3 separate regions of the Homo sapiens genome follow, and regions 1 and 2 are each linked to region 3. Evidence: promoter capture Hi-C in 16 types of primary human blood cells and fetal thymus (Javierre and others, 2016). All regions are on one chromosome and are shown on one strand. Each heading gives the region's core, a stretch centred on a gene start or on the middle of the fragment in contact. The rest is flanking DNA. Distances are from core to core; before and after follow the strand shown.

The links. The method cuts DNA at HindIII sites, captures the fragments that hold promoters and counts their contacts. A CHiCAGO score of 5 or more calls a contact.
Region 1: a contact is called between a fragment that was not itself captured here and the fragment with the promoter of ANAPC10 in region 3, in 1 of 17 cell types (fetal thymus). The highest score is 5.4, in fetal thymus.
Region 2: a fragment that was not itself captured here is called in contact with the fragment with the promoter of ANAPC10 in region 3 in 5 of 17 cell types (total CD4 T cells, non-activated CD4 T cells, M2 macrophages and 2 more); the score reaches 8.8 in total CD4 T cells.

What each region holds. Positions count from the first base shown.
Region 1 is chr4:147,865,485-147,869,256 of GRCh38, reverse strand. It overlaps ARHGAP10 (Rho GTPase activating protein 10), which reads right to left. Exons shown (of 23, transcript NM_024605.4): 7 at 2,441-2,545. Among named protein-coding and RNA genes, the nearest start is that of MIR4799, 85 kb to the right of the region's middle. RefSeq lists enhancers at 1,105-1,781, 1,782-2,459 and silencers at 2,280-2,329, 2,128-2,352. The HindIII fragment of the contact is 229 bases long and covers 2,199-2,427 here.
Region 2 is chr4:147,622,212-147,625,897 of GRCh38, reverse strand. TMEM184C (transmembrane protein 184C) reads right to left here. Exons shown (of 10, transcript NM_018241.3): 2 at 1,934-2,064; 3 at 1,800-1,836; 4 at 889-1,094. Among named protein-coding and RNA genes, the nearest start is that of TMEM184C, 6.7 kb to the right of the region's middle. The HindIII fragment of the contact is 1,834 bases long and covers 1,033-2,866 here.
Region 3 is chr4:145,095,566-145,099,553 of GRCh38, reverse strand. It overlaps ANAPC10 (anaphase promoting complex subunit 10), which reads left to right and starts at 1,358. Exons shown (of 5, transcript NM_001256706.2): 1 at 1,358-1,434; 2 at 3,443-3,569. The coding sequence starts at 3,455. It overlaps ABCE1 (ATP binding cassette subfamily E member 1), which reads right to left and starts at 1,243. Exons shown (of 18, transcript NM_002940.3): 1 at 1,135-1,243. RefSeq lists enhancers at 932-1,011, 360-1,231, 1,262-1,521, 1,602-1,651, 785-1,984 and 1 more. The HindIII fragment of the contact is 4,584 bases long and covers 307-3,988 here.

The sequences.
Region 1 (3,772 bases), core at 1,064-3,563, 2.8 Mb before region 3:
ACCCCAGAGTCTGAGGCAGAGAGCTGGCTTCAGGGCATTCACCTATGCAGTCCACAGGGCCCTGCGCTCAGAAGAGCTTCTGCTTGCTTTAATGATCAAATGCCTCTGATCTGAAACTCTTAATTATCTCTAAATAAGGGGCACTATCTTCTTCATTTTACCTTGATTCTAGAAGTTGTATATACAGTCCTGCCTGAAGGTTCTCATTCTGGCCAGCCCTGCACTTAACAGATGAGGTCCAGACAGACAAGGTGAATTTCCACAGATTATATAGCCAGTAAGCAGAGGGGAAAACATAAGTTATAATCTCAAGCAGGGGTCCCCAACCCCCAGGCTGCCGACAGGTACCGGTCCATGGCCTGTTAGGAACCGGGTCACATGGCAGGAGGTGAGCGGCAGGTGAGCCTGAGTCCACCTTCTGTCAGATCCGCGGTGGCATCAGATTCTCATAGGAGCATGAACCGTATTGTGAACTGCGCACGTGGATCTAGATTGTGCAGTCCTTATGAGAATCTAATGCCTGATGACCTGAGGTGGAAAAGTTTCATCACGAAACCATCCCCTACCTTCTCCCACCCCCACTGCATCTATAGAATTGTCTTCCTTAAAACCAGTCCCCGGTGCCAAAAAGGTTGGGGACCACTTACGTGAACTATCTACTGTTCTTTTTACATAACTGTTTTCTGCTGCCTGCAAAAATATTCTGAATAATCTCAACATCAGCCAGGCATGGTGGCTCACCCCCGTAATGCCAGGATCTTGGGAGGCTGAGGAAGGAGGATCACTTGAACCCTGAAGTTTGAGCAGCCTGGGCAACACAATGAGATGCCATCTCTACCAAAAAGAAAAAAAATTAGCTGGGTGTGCTGGCATGCACCTGCAGTCCCAGCTACTCAGGAGGCTGAGGCAGGAGGAGTACTTGAGCCTAGGAGGTTGAGGCTGCAGTGAGCAGTGGTTGTGCCACTGCACTTCAGCCTCAGCGACAGAGTGACACCCTGTCTCAAAAAAAAAAACAAAAAAAACTCAACAACATTAGACTCAATATTCTACTACCTGCAGGGACAATTTTGGGGTGACTAGAATGAATCCACACATACCCATTTTGGATTTTTAAGTTTTGTCACATTATAGTCATACCACATATTTTATAACTGTTTTCACAAATTGTGAGACCACAGCAGCAGAAAAAGAATCTACTCCAGAACTCTATCATTAGCCCAGCTGAATGTCCAAACAATCCTCAAATACAAGTTGACACATAAATTATAAAAATAAGGTTTTATCAGCTACACTCCTTAGTATAAGGAACTGTACATAAAAAAAAAAAAAAGTTAGAAACAAAATCTACACAAAAGGTATTCACTCTCAACTTTTTTTTTTTTTTTTTTTTTTTGAGACAGAGTCTCACTCTGTCGCCCAGGCTGGAGTGCAGTGGCACGGTCTCGGATCACTGCAACCTCCACCTCCCGGATTCAAGCAATTCTCCTGCCTCAGCCTCCCGAGTAACTGGGATTACAGGCGCACTCCACCACACCCAGCTAATGTTTGTATTTTTAGTGGAGACAGGGTTTCACCATGTTGGCCAGCATGGTCTCAATCTCTTGACCTCGCGATCTGCCCGCCTAGGCCTCCCAAAGTGCTGGGATTACAGGCATGAACCACTGTGCCCGGCCCACTCTCAACTTCTAATTGTGAAAGAAATGAAGAGCAGGCAACAACCACAGCTTCCCATCCATCTACCTGTGTGTCTTTCACTATGTGCTGTGAGTCTGTCACAAAGCTATCTCACTACATTCCTAATGAGACCTCAAATTACACTCAACATACCCTGACCAGCTTGTCAGTGAGGACGCTTCCAGGATCAACTAGCACTGAGAGGAAAAACATATACCACCTGATCAAAATGACATATAGTGTACTGCTTAATAACATTCTCCTAAATCTCTTTATCCGAGACCTGGCAGAAAGCACACATTTTCCAAAGGAAAATATTCAAGACCAATAGCAACTGTAAACACCAATGCATTAGTAAATATGCATAAAATGTAGGGAAGAAATTCTACTCAAATGATAAGCCTATCTGGGAACAAAAATCAAGATGCCCAGTTAAGTAGTGCATTATAAATTCAATGCCTTAAAGTGGAGTGCTCTTTTGTCTGTAGCAGACATAGCTGATTTAGAGTTAACATAACAAAGCTTATCCTTAGAATTGACCCAGAAACTGCAGGAAAAGCCGCCAGGTGGCAGAATTTCCCAAGCCTCAACCAACTGTAGAGCAGTTGGTCACACCAAGAGTTGACCAGCAGGTGGCAGCATACCCTCAGTTTCTCAGTACAAACAGATCAGCATTGTCTTCATTTAATTAAGGCTTTTCATACAACACACAAATGAAAAATACTTTTCAAACATCTTTTTATAAAGAAAGCTTTCACTTCCTTACATTCTGAATGTTGATCTGTAGTTCCATTTTGTAGTGATTGAAGTCTTTGGCAAGTTCATGGCCCTGATGATAGAAGGTAAACATCCCCTGAAAAAATGACAGCATCTAAGACACAGGAAGAAAAGAGATATTAGCACAAAAAAACTCAGGAGAAAAAAAGAATCATATAAACAACCAAGTGTTCCCCCCGCCATCTCACTGTTATTCCACTGAAATAAACTGATTAAAGGGAAGTCACTAATATTCAAGTAAACACAAGTACATATTATCTATTAATTGGTCTTTATAGAAAATGATGCTTTTTTCCCTTAAATATCACAGCCATTAGACAGCTTATATGGCATGTTCTGCAGGAAAAATTGAATTATTAAGTCATCCATTTGTCCTCTTTAGTCAGGAGAATCCCAATATTTGTAATTGAAATCTTATCACTATAGGTTGACACAATCTTTAAGAAAGTAAAATCACAGAATCAAAGAGCTCCAGGCTCTCCCCAGCCACATCCAGCAGACTGCAACCCCTGTGTTTTGTTGACAAAGATATTCCATGACTTGCCAGGGGCAGCCTCAAACCCGTAATTAAACCTTTACTTTCCTACCAACTCCCAACCTGTCTCTGAATTAGAGGGCTGTTGCCTCTGCTCCACATGTAAGTCAATAAATCTAGAAGTAAAAAGAAGTGATCTGGGGAGACAGTTAAGGAAATCTTGAGATTCATTTTCTTCCAAATGCCACACCGTGGGTGGTTAGGAATCTGGGGCTCTGACACCCAGCAGGCTCCATTCCCAACGTCAGCCATGACCTGTTATGGGACCTTAGGCAAATTACTCAGCCTTTCTCTACTTCTATTTCCTTATCTCCTCATTGAGTTATAGTGTGGAATAATGAGTTCGGTACAACACTTAGAACAATGGCTTGAACAGAGACTGAGCATTATAAATGCCCAATAAAAGCAGGCCATTATTATTATTTCACATTAAAAAGAAAGCTTTGAGGAGGTTGAGTTTTTCTCTAATGGTTTAGGTTAATGACTATCGCTCCAACTAAACCATAGCTCCACAAATGCTCATTTTTAATCATTACTTGGTTATTCTTGTTTCTATAAACCATACTCACAATGAGTAAATTGTATACTGTGTGAATATTATCTTAATAAAGCTGTTTAAGAAAAAGAAACCATTCAATAAGTCGATATTAAAATTAAAATGAATCCTGAGAATGAGATCCAGTGTTTTTTTGCTGAAATCCACATGAAATATCCTTTACATTATGATATATACATTCATGTGCATACATCTTCATATATAAACAACTGAAGCTACTAGAAAACATC
Region 2 (3,686 bases), core at 700-3,199, 2.5 Mb before region 3:
GACTGATTTGAGTAATAATAAAACTCCTGTCTCCCGCACAGCTGGCTCTGTCTGAATTACTCTTTATCTTTTGCAATTCCCGTCTTGATGAATCGGTTCTGTCTAGGTGGCTGGCAAAGTGAACCCCTTGGGCGGTTGCATTAGTGGACATGTCCTATTGATTTTTCAGTTGCATTCTCTTATTGCCTTTCTTTTCTATTCCAATCTCATCCCCCTTTTCAGTTTTATTTCACAAATAGATTATTATAAACTCCTAATTTATTTCTCCATCTCTGGAATCTTCTTCCTTCCAATTCATCCTTTATGATATTGCAAAATTAATCTTTCTAAAACACTGTTTCCAAATGTTTGCTTGCTGAAAAATACCAAGTGGTTCATTTCTATAATAAATGCAATTGTAAACTCAATTTATTTTTCAAAATGAAATGACATAAGTTTTAATGTCCTACATGAACATATAATAAGGCAAGCTGATGTATTATGTTACCAAACACTGTTACTTATTGCTCCTACTTCATATCATATGTGGTTCTACAACCTACATTATCTTGTCTATGTCTTTTAACTAGCTGTGTGTTCTTACATAAGATCTGCAGACCTTGGTTCTCAACTGCAAAAGCATATTGATTAAATGATTACTGTTTTTACCTGCAATACTTTAATTTTTGGATTTGGGATTAATAATGTAAAAAAGACTAACATATATGTGGGATTACAAAACTGTTTTGTTAGCCTTCAAACAACTATGAACTGCATCAGGAGCTGTCTTATACTTATTGTTCTGCTATTAATACTTAATGCACTGCCTTGTAAAGAGCTGATTGCTACTTAAAAACTCTGCTTAAATGAAAAACCAAAACATAAAAGAATTAAACCAAACATACTTACTCTCCCATAGCCCATGGTGGACAGCAACATAAAGGAGGGAAATGTTTCTGTTGATCTTTGGCTTCAAGGATTAATACCAGATTTGGATACCGGTTAGTTAGATAATTGGTAAGGAATCCCATAAAGTTGTAAATTACATAAGCTTCATAGCATTCTCTGCAGGTATCCACATATATTGCAATTCCGGGATATTTCAAAGCTATCCACTATGAAAAAGCACAGATGTTAAAGATAGTTGCAGCTAAGATAAAATGAATCACCACTCCATTCATGGTACTCACAATAAGCTAATTTTTATGCTTGAGATGTCTTGTCATATACTTACATGGGACTCTCTAAAATTTATCATTATGAGGGCTATCAATCTGTGAAATGAATGCTTAAAAGCAATAAACATCTTAGATATTGGTAAACAAAAACAAGTGTTTGAGGGGTAAATAATGAATAAAGAGAGAAGCTAAAGTAAGTACTTGTGTTCTTAAATCTGAAGTTTTTCTTAATATGATCATAGATAATGCTGCTAAAGATATTTCCTTTAATATTTACTCATATTAGAAGCAGTCATCTACAACAATTTCATGTGTATCCACTGGGGAAGGTTTTTAAATTTTTGATTCAAATAAAAGACGTAATAAATAAAAAGAGTAGTATATTAATTTAAAATATTACATTCTTTAACAATCTGAAAGTTTAAAAGAAAGCAAACAGCTATAGATTTTTAAACATTTATAATATAACATTTTACATTTTTAATTATACTTTATATTCTCTATCATTAGAAACAAGTGAACCTTTTTACTTATTAATCTGACTCCTTGTCAATAACATACTTTCATTATCTTAAGCATTCTGTAATTATAGTATCATCAAACAAGTCCTTAGTTAATGAGATAAAAATGAAACATACTTACACTATCTAAACTGTAAATAGGTACCATCCAAAGAATCCTATTGGAAAAGGAAAACAGAAATTTAAAACATTTTATGTCATATTTATGAAATAAGCCAACACAACAGTAGTGGAATCAAAATTATTAAGACATACCTTATTATTGGTTTTTGTAGTTCAGGTTGTGTATAATGCACTAAGTGTTGCAATATCACCCACAGTGATATAGGAATAGTCAACAGCAAAAAGATTCCAGCAATAAACCAAGCCTTGGTGTGTATTCCAACCTTAAGAAACAAAATAACATGTTAATATAAATTCTGATATTAAAACAAAAGAGCTTGGCCAGGCTCAGTGCCTTGTGCCTATAATCCTAGCACTTGGGGAGGCCGAGGTGGGAGGATCGCTTGAGGCCAGGAGTTTGAAACCAGCCTGGGCCTACAAAGTGAGAACCCGTCACTACAAAAAAAAAAAATTAAAAAATTGAAAAAAATTTGTGGGGGAGGGGGGACTTTTATATTAACTTGTAATCTTGCCTTGAAGAGTATGAATCTTTTTTTTTTTTTAAGGGGAAAAGGTGGGCATTTATTTTTGATGCTTGAAGGGTTGAGCAGTTTACAATTAAAATAGAACTAAGGTCTACAACCTTAAGTATCACTGTTTCTTTTCTTTTTCTTTTTTTTTTTTTGAGACAGTTTTGCTCTGTTGCCCAGGCTGGAGTACAGCGGCGCGATCTTGGCTCACTGCAACCTCTGCCTCCGGGGTTCAAGCGATTCTCCTGCCTCAGCCTCCCAAATAGCTGGGATTACACACCCAGCTAATTTTTTTGTATTTTTAGTAGAGATGGGGTTTCGCCCTGTTGGCCAGCCTGGTCTGGAACTCCTGACTTCAAGTGATCCGTCCGCCTCCGCCTCCTGAAGTGCTGGGATTACAGGCATGAGCCACCGTGCACGGCCCAGTTTCACTGTTTGAACAGGACTTTTTCTTCCTCTACCAGGGGCCAAAGATAAAAGAGGTAGAAAACAAAAGTATGGAGAACAAATGCATTTTTACAACAACAAATTTCCACATTAAAATGTATAGAAAGCTTGAAAAGGGCTGAGTGAGGTGGCTCATGATTGCTTGAGCCCAGGGGTTCCATCCAGCCCAGCCTGAGCAACATGGCGAGATGCCATCTCTACAAAAAATAAATTAGCGAGGCGTGGAAGCATGTGCCTGTAGTCCTACCTACTAGGAAGACTGAGGTGGGAGATCTGCTTGAGCCCAGGAGTTCAAGGCTACAGTGAGCCATGATTTGTGCCACCGTACTCCACCCTGGGCAACAGAGTGAGACCCTGTCTCAAAAACAAAAACAAACCAAAAGCTAATACAAAGTCTTACTGATTGTGGGGGCGTTAATCAAACAGTAAATGAAAAGCAAATATATGGACGTAAGACTCTAAAAGGAATGTCTGAGCACTCATATTACAGGGCTTTTTGCTTTTATCCATTTCATTTAAAATTGAGTACAGTAGTCCCCACTTATATGTGGGGATTAGGTTCCAAGACCCCCAGTGAATACCTAAAACTATAGATAGTCCCAAATCCTATATGCATATACTATGTTTTTTCCTATACATATATACTTATGATAAAGTTTAATTCATAAATTGGACACACAGTAAGTGGTTAACAAGAAAATAGAACAATTATATATTGTAATAAGTTATTTAAAACTTACAAATTACTTATTTCTGAAATTTTTCATTTAATATTTTCAGACCATGGTGGACAACAGGTTACTGAAACCAAGGGAAGTGAAATTTCAGTGATGATCTAAGAAAATAATAATAGGATAAGCATATTCTAGATCTCCTTTATTATAAAGGATGGTACTGCGGCCAGGCGCGGTGGCTCATGCCTGTAATCC
Region 3 (3,988 bases), core at 109-2,608:
CAAACAAAAAAACTCCCTTTTTTAAAATAGGGGAGAACTAAGTTCTCAAAAAGCTCACAAACCCCAAACAGCTTTTGGTTCAAATACAGGTTCTGAGCCTTTGGTTACACTAACAAAGTATTAGTGTCAGGTGGCTGGTATACAATGAATATTCTCAGAATATGGGACAAACTACTGCAACATAAATGCCACTATCATAAATGACTAGTTAGCAGTCCTGTTGGGAAAGAGTAAAAAAATAAAACATGTTATTTGGACAGTTCTTCCTCTTATAGATTTTTACCATCAAAAAAGAGAAAATAAGCTTATGTAGTTAATGGGAGGTGGGAATTCGGCTTTGGCTGTCATTCATTCACAATACGTATTAAATGCCTACAATGTACGAAGCCCTGAAGAGATAATAAAGGTATTCTGAGTAAAGACATCAACCTTGATCTCAATGAGTATTAGATACAATAAAAGGAAAAACGGGTAAGGGGAGAAAGTGCCTAGTGCTACAAAAGCGTACCAAAAAAACTATAGGATTTCTACTGGGAAACTACTTGGGACAACCCCAGTCATAGCTGCGTACACGCTGTTCTGAGAAAAGCAGAGTGACATGTGGGCATCATTTCTATAAAGCCTGGGAGTGGACAGCGAGTATTCGACTTCATGGCGGCAAGATGCCATGACTCATTCCACTCAACAAAACGTGGAAGCCACGACTTCCCACAACCAAATATGCACATGTGACAATATATCCATTTTGGGTGCTGGAGGAGTGTGGGGGTACTAGAGAGTGCTGTAAGTTCTAAAGGTGCCTTCCTCTCCAGCAGGTTTAGCTTCAGGGCGGGAGTGGGGTAAAGGGGGAGTGGAGACTACGGCATCTAGGTCCATTCTCGAAGTCCCTCGCGGGTGTGGCAGGCAACAGCGGCGACAGCCGGGTCGGCTGGAGGGGAAGACCGAGGCGCCCCCAAGCTCTCGGCGTCGCCCGCGCTCCATCAGTTCCAGCTGTCCCGCAGGAACCGCTGCCACGCGCTGCTGCTGTCTCCGCCACCTAAGGCCTAACCAAAGGCTCTCGGAGAACGTCCCTACATTCTTTCCAACCTGGCAGATGGCAGCTAACGGCCAAACCTCTCCGGGCTATTCACGTACCTGGAGAAAACGATCCCCTTGCGGAGGGGAGCACAGAGGCCAAATCAGCTCTTGCCTTCACTTTTCAGCCACACAGCGTGTTCTCACGGCCACCGGCCAAAATGGCGGTGCCCAGCCGCCGCACGCGCAAGCCATAGGACGTAGTGCGCGCGCGCGACATAGAGCGTGAGGCGGAACCCTGGAGGTAGGTAGGGAGATATGACGTCATTGAGCTGCGACCCTTGTTCAACGCCGTTGGCGAAGCCAGCTGCTGGAGGTGCCGAGAATCTGAGTTTCGGCAAGCAGCCAGGTCTGGAAACTGTGAGTGTGTGGGCTTTTCTCCGACGTCGAGCGTGGTCCTAGCGTAAACAGATGCATTCGCCTCTCCGGTTTCAATCTTTTTTTACGTTTGCGCTTTCCTCAAGGCCGGTGGGTCAGGAGTGGAGCCTTAGTCATTCTAACGCTGGAGGTGTCAGTAGGACCAACAGAGTCTGGTGCCGACACGGCTTACTGTTGCGCGCTCTTCTAGGCCTCAACTTCCTCTCAACTGTGTGGTCAGTTCAGGGCCGGGAATCCAATCTTTTCCGAGCTCCATATTTTATCCACTTGGTGGCGTCCAGTCCCAAGTCCGGCAGTTGAATTCTGCCCTAAAGATGGGCTTTATTTCTATCTTTTTTTAGGTAACAGGACATTCAGTTAGTAATGATGGTTGCAGGTTGAATAGTCTCGCCCTAGATCTCACCTAACTTGCAGGCAAGTGACAACTAGTTCATAACTGAACCTATTCATCTGTTTATTCATTCAGTAAATTACTTATTGAGCGTTTAAGCCTCAGGCCTTGCCAAAGTTTACAGTCCGTTGTGTCTGCCGTTATTTAGTAAGTATCAAGTGCTTGTGTGCCGATTAAAGAACAACTTCGGATACAATGGGAGGTGTCAAGGAAACGGTATGCAGAACTATTGCACCTATTTTGAATAGCATATATAACAATGTTCAGTAGCAGTAACTGCGCTACCAAAGCAGTTTTACATATTGTTCACGATCCAGTATTGAAGTGTTTTTTCACATATGAATAGACTTAGTAAAATTAACAAAAGATGTGAAAGATGAGGTCAACCTTTTTAGAATGGGCCAGTTATTCACTTCAAAATCTTGAAGCCATTTTCCTGACCTTATCTTCTATGGTAAGAGCATATGTAAGTGAACTTTTAACATTTTTTTCTTATTTTTGTGCTTTTTGGGACAGTGTCTTGCTCTGTTACGCAGGCTGGAGTGCAGTAGCACGATCTCGGCTCACTGCAACCTCCGCCTCCCAGTTCAGGTGATCCTCCTGTCTCAGCCCCCCTGGGACTACAGGTGTGTGCCGCCACACCAGGCTGATTTTTTGGAATTTTTTTAGAGACAGGGTTTCACCATATTCCAGGCTGGTCTCGAACTCCTGGGCTCAAGCAATCCACCTGCCTTGGCCTCCCAAACTGCTGGGATTACAGGTGTGAGCCACCGGGCTGGGTCTTAAATAAAACTTTTGACAGCTAGAGGGCAGGTATGACTGTTCTCTGCATCACTCAATGAATATTTAAAATGAGGATCTTAGTGGGGTGATGGGATCACACCTGTAATCCCAGCTACTTGGGAGGCTGAGGTGGGAGGATCGCTTGAAGCAAGGTGTTCAAGACCAGCCTGGGTAACATAGCTAGATCCTGTCTCTAAAAAAAAAGGAATTAAGTAAATAAAATGAGGATCAATATTTATATATTCCTAGAATAAAAGTATTTCAGTCTGACTTTTCTAGGGCTAAAAGTCATTTGAATTTTCAGGCACAGAATTATAGAACTGCATAGCATTGTAGAAGTAAAAATCATCAAGTGAACCTCTTTAACAGGAGAGGAAATAAAGCCCAGACCTACTCAAAGTCTAGGCTGATTAAAGGAGATACTGAAGCCAAAACTTTGATTCTGTGCTCTTTTGACTACTATAGCTCACTGCTTTGCATATCTGGTCATATGAAACAAAACCTGAATTCCTAAGATTTTTATTTATTTAAAAATAGAGATGGGGTCTTGCCATGTTGTCCAGGCTGGTCTTGAACTCCTGGGCTCACATGATCCTCCTGTCTCAGCCTCCCAAAGTGTTGGGATTACAGGTGTGAGCCACCATGCCCAGCCCCTAAGATTTAAATTACAGTGATTTAATTATATTAACTGCATTCTTCAGAATAAATGATTAATGTCAGGGTATATGAGTTCCATTAAATTTTTCTTGGTAAAAAACTTTTGTAGAAAGATGCCCAGTTCCTGATACAATGTGTGCATTCTTGTTTTCTACATAGAATATTTTAAAAATGACTACACCAAACAAGACACCTCCTGGTGCTGACCCCAAGCAGTTGGAAAGGACTGGAACAGTACGGGAAATTGGGTCACAAGCTGTTTGGTCACTCTCATCTTGCAAACCAGGTAAAAACTAACAAACAAAAAAGCTGTTGGAAATAGTCACTTGCAGTTTCCTTGTACAGGCATCTCCCCTTATCCCAGGGGATACATTCCAGGACTCCCAGTGGATGCCTAAAACCATGGATAGTACTGAACCCTTTCTATATTAATACTATGTTTTTTCCTATACATAAATACCTGTGATAAAGTGTAATTTATAAATTAGGCACAGTAAGAGATTAACAATAATTAATAATAAAATAGAACAATTATAACAATAGAAGTAATAAAGTAATAAAAGTTTTGTGAAAGTGGTCTCTCTCGCTCTCAAAATATTATATTGTACCCTTCCTCCTGCGATGATGTGAGAGATAAAATGTCTATGTGATGAGAGCGAGTGAGGTGAAGAATGTAGGTGTTGTGATGTAGTGTTAGGCTACTAT